Regions from separate parts of the Homo sapiens genome. Here regions 1, 2, 3 and 4 are each linked to region 5. The links are contacts of gene promoters, found by promoter capture Hi-C in blood cells and fetal thymus (Javierre and others, 2016). All regions are on one chromosome and are shown on one strand. The core of a region is centred on a gene start or on the middle of the fragment in contact, and the rest is flanking DNA. Distances in the headings are between cores, read along the strand shown. Region 1 overlaps LOC102723944 (a long non-coding RNA gene). Region 2 has its middle 29 kb from the start of FOXCUT. Region 3 overlaps LOC102723944 (a long non-coding RNA gene). Region 4 has its middle 10 kb from the start of FOXC1. Region 5 holds the start of LINC02521 (long intergenic non-protein coding RNA 2521).

The links. Contacts are between HindIII fragments. The CHiCAGO score rates a contact against its expected background, and 5 or more counts as called.
Region 1: a fragment that was not itself captured here is called in contact with the fragment with the promoter of LINC02521 in region 5 in 4 of 17 cell types (naive CD4 T cells, activated CD4 T cells, total CD4 T cells and 1 more); the score reaches 8.7 in naive CD4 T cells.
Region 2: a fragment that was not itself captured here is called in contact with the fragment with the promoter of LINC02521 in region 5 in 10 of 17 cell types (naive CD4 T cells, total B cells, total CD8 T cells and 7 more); the score reaches 11.9 in naive CD4 T cells.
Region 3: a contact is called between a fragment that was not itself captured here and the fragment with the promoter of LINC02521 in region 5, in 7 of 17 cell types (non-activated CD4 T cells, total CD4 T cells, activated CD4 T cells and 4 more). The highest score is 10.5, in non-activated CD4 T cells.
Region 4: a fragment that was not itself captured here is called in contact with the fragment with the promoter of LINC02521 in region 5 in 15 of 17 cell types (activated CD4 T cells, naive B cells, naive CD4 T cells and 12 more); the score reaches 18.0 in activated CD4 T cells.

The regions. Positions count from the first base shown.
Region 1 is chr6:1,515,548-1,518,247 of GRCh38, forward strand. All of the region lies in intron 2 of LOC102723944 (a long non-coding RNA gene), which reads right to left. It also overlaps the pseudogene ELF2P2. Among named protein-coding and RNA genes, the nearest start is that of FOXCUT, 89 kb to the right of the region's middle. The HindIII fragment of the contact is 4,402 bases long and covers 1-2,700 here.
Region 2 is chr6:1,575,372-1,578,071 of GRCh38, forward strand. No RefSeq gene overlaps it. Among named protein-coding and RNA genes, the nearest start is that of FOXCUT, 29 kb to the right of the region's middle. RefSeq lists an enhancer at 1,048-1,821. The HindIII fragment of the contact is 9,409 bases long and covers 1-2,700 here.
Region 3 is chr6:1,551,024-1,553,723 of GRCh38, forward strand. It overlaps LOC102723944 (a long non-coding RNA gene), which reads right to left. Exons shown (of 7, transcript XR_427861.4): 2 at 1,323-1,461. Among named protein-coding and RNA genes, the nearest start is that of FOXCUT, 53 kb to the right of the region's middle. The HindIII fragment of the contact is 8,686 bases long and covers 1-2,700 here.
Region 4 is chr6:1,618,785-1,621,484 of GRCh38, forward strand. No RefSeq gene overlaps it. Among named protein-coding and RNA genes, the nearest start is that of FOXC1, 10 kb to the left of the region's middle. RefSeq lists an enhancer at 1-687. The HindIII fragment of the contact is 5,353 bases long and covers 1-2,700 here.
Region 5 is chr6:2,633,121-2,635,820 of GRCh38, forward strand. It overlaps LINC02521 (long intergenic non-protein coding RNA 2521), which reads left to right and starts at 1,380. Exons shown (of 3, transcript NR_149119.1): 1 at 1,380-1,635. LINC01600 (long intergenic non-protein coding RNA 1600) reads right to left here and starts at 1,483. Exons shown (of 3, transcript NR_131168.1): 1 at 1,445-1,483; 2 at 485-672. The HindIII fragment of the contact is 1,903 bases long and covers 208-2,110 here.

The sequences.
Region 1 (2,700 bases), core at 132-2,631, 1.1 Mb before region 5:
ATCCCGCCACCTAACGGCAGGGGCAGGGGCCACAGCTGGCAACGCCTACTTTAATTTTAAAAATAATCACTGGGGCCTGGAGCAGCGGCTCTCGCCTGTAATCCCAGCACTTTGGGAGGCCGAGGTGGGCAGATCACCTGAGGTCAGGAGTTCGAGTCCAGCCTGGCCAACATGGTGAAACCCCGTCTCTACTAAAAATACAAAAATTAACTGGGCCTGGTTGTGTATGCCTGTAATCTCAGGTACTCAGGAGGCTGAGGCAGGAGAATCGCTTCAACCGGAAGGCAGAGGTTGCAGTGAGCCGGGATCATGCCACTGCATTCTAGCCTGGGCAACAGAGCAAGACCGTCTAAAAAAAGAAAAAATCATCAGGGAATACATTTTGTGCCATATGTATTGGGTGAATTAAGGAAAGGCTCCTTATGTGATAGTTCATTTATGCCTCACCATCACCTCCTAAGATAAGGAATAGCAGACAATTTTCCAGAGGAAGAAATGAGGTTTAGAAGGAATGTAATTTTAAAGTCACATGACCAGCAGGTCCCAGACCCTGTATTGAAACCTGAGTATATCTGGCTTATGTTCTTCCTACTGCATATGCTATATCTTCCAGGAAGAAAAAAGTATTTACAGTGTCCTAAAAGGTCGTCATAGTTGGAAAGGACCTTATGGATAATCCAGGCAGAAGTCTCTCCCTTTTTACATTAAGCTATATAAAGTCTTAAACGGAACTAAGGCTCAATTATGTTAACTGAAAGACGTTATCCCGTCGTGTGATCCAAGATGACCCTAGCGGTGCTCGGAAGTTGCTTTGCCGGGCAGCAGCCGTTCGCCAGTCCCCTCCTTGGCCCCAAGCCCCCCGGTGACTGTCATATGGCCTCACACTTATCTCATGAGCTACATTGTTACAGATTTTAATAATGTAACATCCTTCTATGACGGATGTGCAAAAGCAGGCATCAGAAACCATTGACATTTATTATCATTGTCTGTTACTATCACTAGGAAAGTTGGAAGCTGTCGTTTTTAATGCAGAAAAATCGGGTCTAAATGTCTGAACCCCCTTTACTCAAAGCTCTGCTGAAGTGAAGCACATATTAAATAGTGTTTCTAAATGACCATTGACCTGGCATTTCCCCAATCAAAGATGGTTTTTTGTTATTTATTTTTAATTATGTCACATCTATGAAACACAATTTGCCAAAAGCAAGCCCTTCAGCGACCTCTGAGCGCTGAGTTCTGATGGCACAGGAGGGAGCCCTGTAACAATCGTGTGTGTTTTCCATGATCCCAGAGGACTGCCCTCCAGCTCTGCAGAGAAGTCTCCTCTGCAGCACGAGGGGCCCACCAGCCTCGAGGCACAGAGGAGACCAGAGCACATCTACACTCAGGTCTGGTGCTCTGGCCAGAAGCAGAGGCTGCCAATTGTACTCAGCCATACTTAATTAAGTAATAGTTTTATGAGGTGGACGGCAATACCCCAGGGGCCAACTCAAGGCCACAGGATTTATTGAGCTCTAACTGCAAACCGACAGTCCCCAGCATGCACACAACAGAGTCTGTATTACGAGAAAGTTAGTGTTGCGAGAGAATTCTTTCCAGGGAAAGTGAGGTGCCCATTCTTCATTTGCTAGCAGGTTCTCTGCTCCGTGAAGCACCAGCACTTCCAACAGGAGCCTGGGTGGACACACCGTGCAGAATGAAAGATGGGGAGCAATGACCTGAAAGCATGCGTGGGGTTTGCCTGGTCAAGAGAGGCAGGAAGTGGTGGCTTCTAAAGAGGAAGCACCTTCACAAGCAATAACCAACAGCAGTGGGATTTCGGTGGGGGAACAACTGAGGACAAGACAGGTCAGGCAAGGGTGTGATAATTAACTATGGTTTCAAGAAGGAGAGGGCCAGAGCCAGTCACCTGTCCCCAGGTGTCACTGTAACTCCACCCCTCCATCAGCCAAATCAGCGCCAGGAAGCAGGAATGAGTGATGCAGGCAGCCGAAGGGGCCACTCACCCCTGGATCTCCGTATCTAGCTGTTTAGCTGTGGGGAACGTTATTGAACGCGGATTTTAAGACACACAAAATACTCCGCTGTAAATCCAAAGAAACACATTCGTAGACTTACAAGTTTACAGATTCTAGCCCATACAGGAGTCAGAAAGTCCATGAGAACCTGGAAGCACCTGCCTGTTTAGATTTTGTCCTTCATCTTTTCTGCCGTCACCCTTGGGTAGCTCTCCCAGCAAGACCACTGGAAGAAAGACTGAACTTAAAGCAGTTGTTTCCTTGGAATACTTATAAAAATATGAAGGCTTTGTGTGTTCTTTTTAAAAATCTATAACATTGCAACCTGATTCAAAGCAAACACATAAAAAAACACAAGGCTGATAGGTAAGAAAAAGACCTTAATGAGGGATCCTTAGAGATGTTCATGTATTGAAGCCAGTGGGTCAAGGCAGAGACCCTTTGAGGCCCTTGCAGGAACTGGTTAGTGCTGAGCATAGTGGCCATCCCTTCTAGCTTGCCCAGGGCAGTATCATTTTATCCTGCTGTCCCGGGGTCATCATTAACACCATCCCCTTTCAGATTGAAAGGCATTCTGTAACCACAGAACTAGTTCAAACCGATTCAACCCTGTCAGTAACAAAATGTAATGAAATGTGAGCTGTTTTTCAGTGCAACAGACCCCCAGATTACAAGTCAT
Region 2 (2,700 bases), core at 123-2,622, 1.1 Mb before region 5:
GAGCTGGGACCATAAAACTCACAAGCTCCAAGTTCCCAGGCTCTTTGTCAGCCCACAGAGCCCTGTCACCTCACAGCTAATGCAGGCAGTGGCCAGCGATCCCCTGGGAGCGGTTTAAAAGCGCAAGTCTGGTTTTTAGAAAAAGCAGCTGAGGTTATAGTAAGCAGCTGACAGTTCCCCCACAGCTTCAAGCTGTAAGCAGCAAAGTGAAAGAGGGGAAGGAGCGTCCTGAGTGGCGTTCTCATAGGAGAGTCATGTCCACCTGGGAAGCAGGGAGATTTGGGCAATCATCCCACTCTTCCAGGAAGACAGCCAAAACCCCCACTGCCCCACAGCCTCCCCACGCCAGAAGCCAGCCCCACTCCAGCCTCAGCCCAGGCGTAACACTGACTCCCCCACGGGCCACAGAGGCTGTGGTCTCAGGGCTTCAGACTGCATTTGCTCCTGTTCACAAAGAAAAGGATTCCAGTAACACCAGAAGTTCTCTCTCCAAAACCGGCGGACCCGGAAGCCCTATTTTGAAACGTTTCTTCACACCCAGACCTCAGCCAAAGCAGGAAAGACGGCACTCAGTGGGGAATGAAAGGCTGGCCTTGTTCTGATGGGAAAGCAGCACTGTGGCTCCCCACAATCCGAAAATGCAGTTTTGATGATTAAAGTGCACATTTCAACAGGCTTTGTGACAGACACTCCTGGCGGCAAGGTCTGGGAAAAGGAGGCTGCCAGTAAACCCCCTGCTAGCCTTGTTTTCTCTGAACTTCTGGCCCCAGTGGGAAAGGAAATTAAAACTTCATTTTTAATTTTTAGTTATGACCCATTGTGCTGCAGGGTCATGGCCGGGGGTTTAGAACACCTAGCCTCGAAAAGGGTCTGAGACACTGTCTTTGAGGTCAGTTCACAAGCCCAGAAGCACCCGAGGCACAGCTGGCGGGGTCGGGGGGCGCAGAATGTTTGCATAGGACAGAGACCTCTGCAGAGATCCCATAAACATCCCTGAGACCGGGAATGCACTTACATTTGCAATTGACCTAATGGTGCCTACAGGACTTTCTCACTTGTTCTCACAACCCAGCTTGATGGACTTCGGCTCTCAAATTCTATCATGCTATTTTACTACGTATTTCTTAGAGGTCAGTTTATGAAATAACATGCAGAACAACTAGTCCTGGCAATAATGAAAGAGGAGGAGTTGGAAAAAGACACAGCCAGGGCCCACACTCCAGCATTGCTCAGTGGATAACCTAACTTAATGGGTACGTTAACTCCCAGGAAGTTAAGACAAAGCTCTTTAGGAAAGACCACCTAGTGTCTCTTCTTGACTTCACGGAGGAAGTCTAGAAAATACTAGTGACCATGGGAAAGCAAACAGACCCAAAATGGTCGTGTTTGGCCTTCAGGGAATTTTGTTGGTTCTTTGAAAAAGGTGAATTAGTCGCCACCATTGAAAGTCCCGGTTTCCTGCTCCTCTCCGTGGATTGGAAAATGAGGCTTCGTGAGGCCCACCGTCCCGTGTGGCATCATCTGTGGGGCTGACAGCACCTGCCCCCTAGGTCGGTTGTCCCACTCCCACTCAGCACAGCCGCCACGCCAGGCTGCTGGGAGTGTCTGAGCTTCAGAACCCTGTTCTGGAGTGAATGGAACATACTCGACACCCTTGGAGCCAAGCAACTGAGATGGACCATTTTCAATAGACTTCAGGGCCCTATCAGAAAATGCCATCAAATGATTCTGTTATGTGTAACAAATACATAGACAGAGAGCAAATGGAAAGGGCCCGGCCAGGGGGCCCCCAGCCTAGACAGCCTCCACACGCCCCCTCAGAGGTACCACTTCCCACCACTGCTTTGGCCTGAATACCCCCTCACTCAGCCACTCCTTCTGGCTGCGGCCCCTCCAGCTTCTGCTAGCAAATGTCCCATAGAGGGTCAAGGGACACTCCTCCTTCTCCCAGGACACTGGCTGCCCAGATCTCCCCCTGCCTGCAGCCGGGGACCTGAATTGGGAGAGGTGAGATATTAGCATCCCCTGGTCCATTTCAGGCTTCAGGAGCCCCGCAAGCTGCAGGCCAACTTTGGAAGACATTTGTGGTGTGGAGACAAAGCCGAGCCCCGGCTGGTCATCCCCACCCGTCGGGGCAGCTGTGCCTGCCAGCCCTGCCTGCCCCTGCCATGCCTGCCACACTCCTACCTGGCCCAGGCTGGAAGGCATCCAGGACAGATCAAAAGTCCCAAATGAGGATGAATATCTGAAAATGGGCACTGAAAGGGGGCGGAATACACGCACACTAAACTGCATGTAGCTGTCAAAGCATTTGGAAACAACAGCGGCCTCAAAGCTCAATGTTATATTTCCACACTGTGATCATTAAACGGTAAGAAACAACCGTCCCAAGAAGGACGAAGAGAACCTTGGATGCCATCTGTGTCAAGCTGTCCCTGGAAAGAAGGAACACTGAGTCCTGAGGGCAAAGGCGAGAATAAACACCGCGCACCCTCAGCCGGGGCCCCGTGTTCCTCCGTGATGTTCCACTTTTGGAAAGGAAGCTGGCACTTGGGTATGCAACAACCTGCCTTCAAACGCCAGTGGCGGGATTTGTTTTTACATTTACATTTTATTATTTTGTGTAGAAAATCCTGCTTTTGAACACCTCAAAAATGAAACTGCAAGGAAAAGCCAGTGAGACGCAGGAGGGGTGAGAGG
Region 3 (2,700 bases), core at 111-2,610, 1.1 Mb before region 5:
GAAGGTGAGGTCAGGAGATTGAGATCATCCTGGCCAACATGGTGAAACGCTGTCTCTACTAAAAATACAAAAATTAGCCAGGAGTGGTGGCGCATGCCTGTAGTCCCAGCTACTTGGGAGGCTGAGGCAGGGGAATTGCTCGAACCCAGGAGGCAGAGGTTGCAGTAAGCCAAGATCCTGCCACTGCACTCTATCCTGGCAACAAAGTGAGACTCCATCTCAGAAAAAAAAAAAGTGGGTGAAGGGTACATTATTTTTCTAAATTTTTTCTAAATTGTCTTCAGGAGTGTATGCAGAAAAAAATTTGAAGACCACTAAGTTATCTGACTTGGCTGGGCTTGAAGCACAGGAGGTCTCATTCACATCAGAAGGTGGGACCCTGGTGCTCTGTAGCAAGAGGTGACGCAACAGTTGCTTGAACTCTGCTTTCAGAGTTGGGGTTATAGGAGTCAAGTGATAAGTGGAGTTTTGGCTCACGTGCTTCTCATGATGTACCTTGTAGGTCTATAAACTTATCCTGTAGCATTTCCTGGGTTTCTGAATGCAGAGCACTCTCTATGCAGAAACTCTATGAATGTATGCAGAAACACCCAGCTACAGAATCCCCACACTCATCCCTGGCCCAGGAAGTGAGGACTATTTAGGTAAGAAGGAGCAAGTGGAAAACCCTGGAACCACTTCTTCCTATCAAGAGTTATCAAAAGCAACATCACATCCCTGAATGAACTGCCAAAGACTTGAAAGATGTAGAGATGGCCGGGCGTGGTGGCTCATGCCTGTAATCCCAGCACTTTGGGAGGCCGAGGCAGGTGGATCATGAGGTCAGGAGATCAAGACCATCCTGGCTAACACAGTGAAACCCTGTCTCTACTAAAAATACAAAAAATTAGCCGGGCTTGGTGGCGGGCACTTGTAGTTCCAGCTACTCGGGAGGCTGAGGAGGAGAATGGGATGAACCCAGGAGGCAGAGCTTGTAGTGAGCCAAGATCACGCCACTGCCCCCCAGCCTGGGCGACAGAGTAAGACTCTGTCTAAAAAAAAAAACAAAACAAACAAACAAAAAAGATGTAGAGATGACATTTCCTATTACGGCCACTTAACTCCCCTGCTTCACCTATGTAGAACACATATGGCTGTTGGAGGATAATAAGGGTTCACTGTTAATTTAGTCAATAGATGGCTTCCATTGCAGCTTTTGTTCTAGACATAGTTTTATGACTGTAGCAAATCAACACAGCCCCCAGCACCCAATATGCAGCTATCAGTTTGGTAAATGTGTTGTCTCTTTCCCAATAAAACCACCAGAAGCAATATTATTTTACCTGGTAGGGACAGCAATACACCTCCACAGTCTTACCCTGTGTCAGGACTGTGCCTTCTCTCCCAATTACATCTGCAGGGAACTGTGTTCATGTGACCATTCCAGAGGACACCACATTAGTAATACGATTCTTATTGCACCTAGTGAGCGGAAACAAGTACATTATGTGCCTACATGTGTGCCAAAGAGTGGAATGTTGTGTCACAAGAATTCAAGAACCTGCTCTCTCAGCAGAATTGCTGTGCCCAGTGATCTGGTGAGCGATGGGATATCTCTCTGAATCTTGCACCCCCTACTGCTAATAAAGAGCTATAGCACTTGATACGACTCTGGATTGGGGAACCAATATGTACTGTGTGTGTGTGTGTGTGTGTGTGTGTGTGTATGTGGGTGTGTGTGCAGCTCTGACCCATATTCTGAATAACCCATTAGTCTGCCAGCTTTGAGAAAATCCCAGGGCAGGCCAGGCATGGTAGCTCATGCCTATAATCCCAGCACTTTGTGAGGGCCAAGGCAGTAGGATCGCTTGAACCCAGAAGTTCAAGACAAGCCTGGGCAAAAAAAAACCATGACTCTGTCTCAAAAAAAATTTTTTTTAATTAGCTGGGTGCATGGTGGCATACACCTATAGTCCTAGCTTCTCAGGATGCTGAGGCAAGAGGATTTCTTGAGCCCCAGGAGTTGAAGGCTGCAGTGAGGTATGGTTGCACCACTGTGCCACTCCAGCCTGGGTGACAGAGAGAGACTGTCTTAAAAAACAAAAACAAAAATTTCAGGCCATGTGCAAGCAGCTTTACCACCACTTGGATCCGTAACAGATCTAATAGTGCTGGAAGCATCCATAGCCAATCAGGATACGATGGTGTCTTATTTTAAAATGTTAGGTCTTATTTTAAAAATGTAAGACTGAACATACCACTGCCAGAATATGCCACTGCAGAACCCCTCAAGGAAAATCATAGGCAAGGCTGTATGTCCAATCACAGAGTTGGTGGAAGACTACAGCATCTCAATACAAGAAAGACCACACAGAAATAGGACCTCTCAGGAAAAAAGACTTAGATTGCTCCACTAGATAAAGAGCACTAACCAGCAGAGGCGCCGGATATGGTGAAAGGAAATACATGCCAGGATAAAGCAAGGATGCTCAACAGTCCAACCTCAGACTCACAAGCCTTGGAAAAATGAGGACTGTAATAGCATTGTTTTCCTTCTTTTCTCTATCCTAGTCAATTTATATTTGTCCTCCCCGTTTCCCTTAACATTTTATATTGGATGTGTTTTATATAAGATGTGACTTTATAATTAGGTCTACGGGTTATAAGATATCAAGGGAGGATTATGACTGAACTCGAATGAACACCAGGACAGAATCTAGA
Region 4 (2,700 bases), core at 20-2,519, 1.0 Mb before region 5:
AAACCAACACATTTAGCGCCATTAACTCTTAAGGCCTCCACATTTCCTTCGGTATAAAAGCAGGTCATTGGTCCCGGAGGCTGTGCCGGGGCTCGTCAAAGGCTACAAACAAACCGGACGGGTGGGAAGCACGTTTCAGCGGCGACTGGATTTTTAAAAATCTGCTGGTAGAGTGAAAACAAAAATTGTCCTCCAAGTTGGCAAAATCGGCGTCCCAGACGGTGCGCAGGAGGGCCCTGCGAGGCCTGTCCCCGGAGCCCCGCGCCAGTCCTGTAGGCCCGGCTGGGTCCGCAGCCCGGTGTTCCACTCGTGGGTCGGGCCCGGCTGCGGGGTCTTTCCGCAGCCGGGACACCCAGGACAGCAGCGGCTGGGGAGCCGGGGCCAGGGGCTTCCTTGCAATTCCAATGATTTTTATTATTATCACTCGCAAAGGACAAACGCGGCCAAGGCCGGGCCTCACAGTGGCTGTGCTGGTCATCGCGTGGAGGAGTGTGCGCTAACCCAGGGGCGAGGGGGGCGCGCCCGGTGTCCCGGGGAGAGCTTAGAAGGAAGACGCCCCACCGTGGTCCCTACAGTCAGGGACAGTCTGGGTGCTAGAAATTCCCAGAGAGAACTCGAGGGGCTGATGTCCTGGGTCACCAGTCCCTGGTGCCTGTGGGGCTTCCTGCGCGCCCACCCCCATCCCCCTCCCCCCTCTCAGGTTCGACGGATTCTCCCGGAGGCTTAGGACAGTGATTTACAGTAAGTGGTGACAGTGGAATAACGTGACAGTCCGCTGCATTTGCCAGCTGGCTCCTGGGCAGGCCTACCCGCCGGGCCCGACCCCAGAGTCGAGTCCTCGGAGCCGCCGGGTAAAGCCCCCTCCCCCGCCCCGGTGCAGCCCCGCGTTCCCCGCGCCCGGCGCTGCCGGGGAAAAGTGGCACAACAGGAAAGCCTCGCCAGAGGGCCCTTCCCAGTCGGCTTCCTCGCCATAAAAAGCCAGACTCCAGCCGAGGTCCTGACCCCTTCCAAATATACGTTCCCTTGCCCGCGGCCCGCCACTCCCGCCCGGGCCTCGGGCTGTGCAGCTTCCTCCTAGGCCTGCCCGGGCCCATGCCTCCCCCGAAGCGGCGGGAGTCGGTGCAGCCTCAACTTCTACTGCGTGTCCCAGGTCGCCAACCAGCTTTGCTCGCGTGCCGTTGGCCCGGAGGCTGCCGCGCCAGTCTCTGCGTGCGCCTGAGCGCGCTGGAGCATTTGCGAGGCCAGGGCTGCCGACGGCGAGAGGATACTTTGAGGAACACGGTGCTTCAGTCCCGCCCCCGCTCTCCGCCCGAGCTGGAGGTTGGGGCGCGCTGAGCCGCAGCGCCTGGACAAGTGCGCGGGCCGGAGCCGCCCAGGCCTGCACCCGGGGGCTCGCGGCCGACGCATGCGCACGCGCGGTGGCGGGTCTGCAGGCCCGAAGGCCCGGCCCCTCCCTCAAACCCGGAGCGGGGAAGCCCAGGGGCTGAGAGCCTCGGCCCGGGTCGCAGGAGCTGGGGAGCGGGGACGCGGGCAGGCTAGGTCTTCCCACCTGCCGTCGGGGCTCCTCCCCGCAGCAGCAAAGGGGTCCCAGTGCCCGTGGCAGTGCATGCCCCAGCGGACACGCTGGCTCCCAAATTCAGAGATCAGAGGGGCGGCTGAGAACGGGGCGTCCGCTGTGTGTGACCCCTGACCGTGGAGGAAGGGCGGGAGCCGGGAGTAGGCGGTGGGGCCCGGGGTCAGGCCGCGGTCGTCGGCTCCCGGCAAAGGCGCTCTGGCCGGGGAAGGGGGCGAGGGTGGGCGGCCGGCCTCTGCCGTCGTAGTCATACCTGGGACGTTGAAATGGGCTTTGGGGATAGAGCTCACTCCCAGCGCGCCCCACAGGAGAAGCCCGCAGCTCAGGCCTGGGCCGTGCAGACCGCTGGGCGGGCTCGGGGCCCGAGGAGAGCAACACGGCGCGAGGTCCAGTCGCGAGTAATAACCCCGACAGCACGGCCCCTCGAAGACGTGTTCCGGGCACCGGGGTTGTGAGCGGGGGAGCCTCGGGCCTTGGGCCCGCTTGGCACGGGGCGGGGGCGCCTCCTCCAACTCCTGGAGATCAGGCCCAGACCCCGGGTGTTCTCAGGGGACACACTGTGGACGGTGGACCAGTTCCTAGCGCCGTTTTGTCCCCCATTGCCCCTGCTGCTTGTTAAAAGTATTAGCGACCCCCGTGATGGCAATCCACAATTTTTGGAGGGTGCGGGTGGCATGTACGGACGTGAAGGTCTCTTTGTGAGGCACGTCCACGCACACACAGGGACACTCATTTTGTAAAACCTAGATGGGCGCTGCCACCACCCCTCCATGCCACCCGCGTACCAATCAAGGATGCAGGTTGTAGAAAACACCTGGACGTGTGTGGGCTGCACCTTAAAACAGAATTCACCCAGTAGGCACTCCCAAATCCAAATAAAGTGCGTAGGGTGCTTTGAGACTTGGGGGGAGGGGTGTTAAAAAGTTACTTGTAAACAATACATTTAAGGTTATTTTCAAGTGAATGTTTAAAGTGCTGCCTGCTCCAAGCTCTAATAACACATTAGTGCGATAATAACACTCCTTGCATCTGCCAGGAGCCCTCCAACTGGCTGCCAGAGGTTCCACGAGGTTCGCGGTGGTTGGTGTAGGCGAAGGCTACTAAAAGGGGCGAAAAAGAACCCAAAG
Region 5 (2,700 bases), core at 130-2,629:
AAAGCAAAATGCTGGTCTTGTTTAAATAAATAATAAGATAAAAGAATCAGGCACTGTAGGGGTATTTGGCCCACAGCCATCCTGTCTCAGCAGGGTCCTTTTCATTGAGGGAAGCATTTTTCATATCCATAATTTGCCCCTTTCTCTAACCCAGGGTGCACGCTGCCGTGGCCCTTGGTGACAATGTCCCCTGTGGCCTTCCTCCAAAGCTTGCTCCAGCAAGCTCTGACATGGTGTCCTCCCTCCCCTTCTGGGCTGCGGCTTCTCCAACCTCCCCCAGCTCCTGCAGACAGAGGAGAAACAGCAAGTCACAAGATAAGACAAAGACCCTCTAGGCCAGGCCACTCCTCGCTGCCACTCTGGGACAGCAAGGCAAAACGCAGACGGCCCCAGCTCTGGACGCCTCTCCTCCTCTGGACCCTAACCCTAACCCTAAGCCACTGGAACACTCACGGGAGAAAGCTGGACCTGCTTTGAGGCTCACCTCCCTGCATGCACATCCATCCGGCTTCTCTCAAGAAGCAACCTGGTGTCTGAGAGCCGTTGAGTCTTCATCCCAGCTCTGGTATTTCTCTCATGTGGCCACATAACCTTGAATGTCTGACCTTCAATTTCTTCATCTGTACAGTGGTGAAGATGATCCCCACTTTGCTAGGTTGTTGTGAGCATTACCTAAAAGAAAATAGGTGCTATGGCGGCATGTTTGTTGAGCTAGGAGGACTCGGAACAAAATTAGCTTCTGCACCGGCTGTGCTGGAGCCAGGCAGGCCGCTCCGGTGTGGCCCTGTTTTTCCTGGTTTGTGTCCCAGGAACCTGCCAACCCTCATTGTCCCGGATTTTCCCTTTGACTCCAAAAGCCGTGTCTTTCTTATCAAGCCTCTTTATTTTTGTTATTATCCCGTCAACATACTCCCCTCTGATTCGCCCCCACTAATGACTCGCGCCCTTTCCAAAGTCCCAGCACACCGCGCTTATAATCTCTTTCAGCTGTCCTTAAAAAGGTTCTATTTGTCCCCTCCGCCCCGCTCAGGGGCGCCCGGACTCTGGGGCCCGGCCTTCGCGGGCTCCCGGGTTCCTCCCATCGCTTCCCTCACAGTCCTGGCCGCAGGGCAGCGGGTTTCGCACGGGAGGGAAGGTTTGGATGGCTAACGCCCAGGGTTGGTCTTCCCTGTGTCTTTTATGGGAACACGTTCCTGCCTGCGCCCCACGGGACAGAGCCGTTTTCCCGCCCCGCCACGCCGCGCCCGCAGGCCCCGCTGCCCGCAGCCTCTTCCCGACGCCCCAGGCCGTGCGCCCCCCCGAACCGGGCCCACCGCGTGCTGTGCGGGGCTTCCGCGCCTGCGCACGAACGCTTCTGCGAGCTTTCTCGGAAGCAGCTGGGGGGCGGGGAATCTGCTGAGGAACGGCGCTTTATAAATCAAAAGATAATAATAACAGAGCTTACGGTGAGCACCGGAGGCTGGAAACGGGGTGGCATCCGCTCGGGGCGGGGCGGCGTCGCCAGCGAATGACAACACTGCCCCCTGGTGGCCGATGCGGCCAGGCCCGAGAGAGCGCAGGCCGGGTGCGAGCCAGGCTTCCTCACCACGCGGCTTCCCCACTCATCCCATAGAAACCGTAACTGAGCAAATGACGGTAAGTCCCCAGGAAGCGTTAAGGCCAGGAAGCAGCACAGGAGAAAAACCCGAATCCCATTTTTTTAGAGTAGGGATTTATTTGTTGTCCCCAGATAGCAAGCTGAATTTCTGAATAGTTCAGAGCTCACAAAAGAAGCCAAGACCTTTCAGGGCATTTTATAATGTTGCTTTTTATAAACAAAATATTGAAACCACTACTATCACTGTCACTGGGGGATTACTGTTGAGCAGAAATGCTTGTGAAACTCCCAAAAGAAAGGGTCGTTTGTGCTTCTTTGGCATTAAGTAAAAATGTCCTGTTTGGTGTGTACACGTTTTCATATTTAATTATTCACACTGTGCACTTTATATATAAACTCAGCACTTAGGTTCTCTGTGAGCCAGAAACCTGGCTTCTGTGCTCATCCATAGACCCAGTGAGAGTGTAGAAGCCAAGCCTGGTGGAGCCTGTGTCTACCAGGGCATTGCAGTAAAGCTTCTACCACTCACTGTAAATACCTCCCATCGAGGCTGAGGAAAAGTTGTAGCATACTTGGAAATTGGGGTGGAGTATTGTCATCCAAAAAGGCATATTTCTTTTGGTGTTTTCCATACCCGGCTGTGTCATTGTGAAGCCTCAGCTCTCCCAATCTCCCCATAAACTGGAGGAATCCTAGTGTTTCCTGTCCTGCCACATTATGTGTGGGGAAGATTTTTTTTTTTTTTTTTGAGACAGAGTTTCACTCTTGTTACCCAGGCTGGAGTGCAATGGCGCGACCTTGGCTCACTGCAACCTCTGCTTCCTGGGTTCAAGCGATTCTTCTGCCTCAGCCTCTGGAGTACGGAGCTGGGATTACAGGCACCCGCCACCATGCCCGACTATTTTTTGTATTTTTTAGTAGAGACCGGGTTTCACCATGTTGGCCAGGCTGGTCTCAAACTCCTGACCTCAGGTGATCCACCCGCCTCGGCCTCCCAAAATGCAGAAAGAGTCTTAAGATGGATTTTTAGTAAGTACTTCAAGCGGCTTTATGAAAGCTACCGTCAGTAAAGTAGAAAACTATATATGCACATATTTAGATAT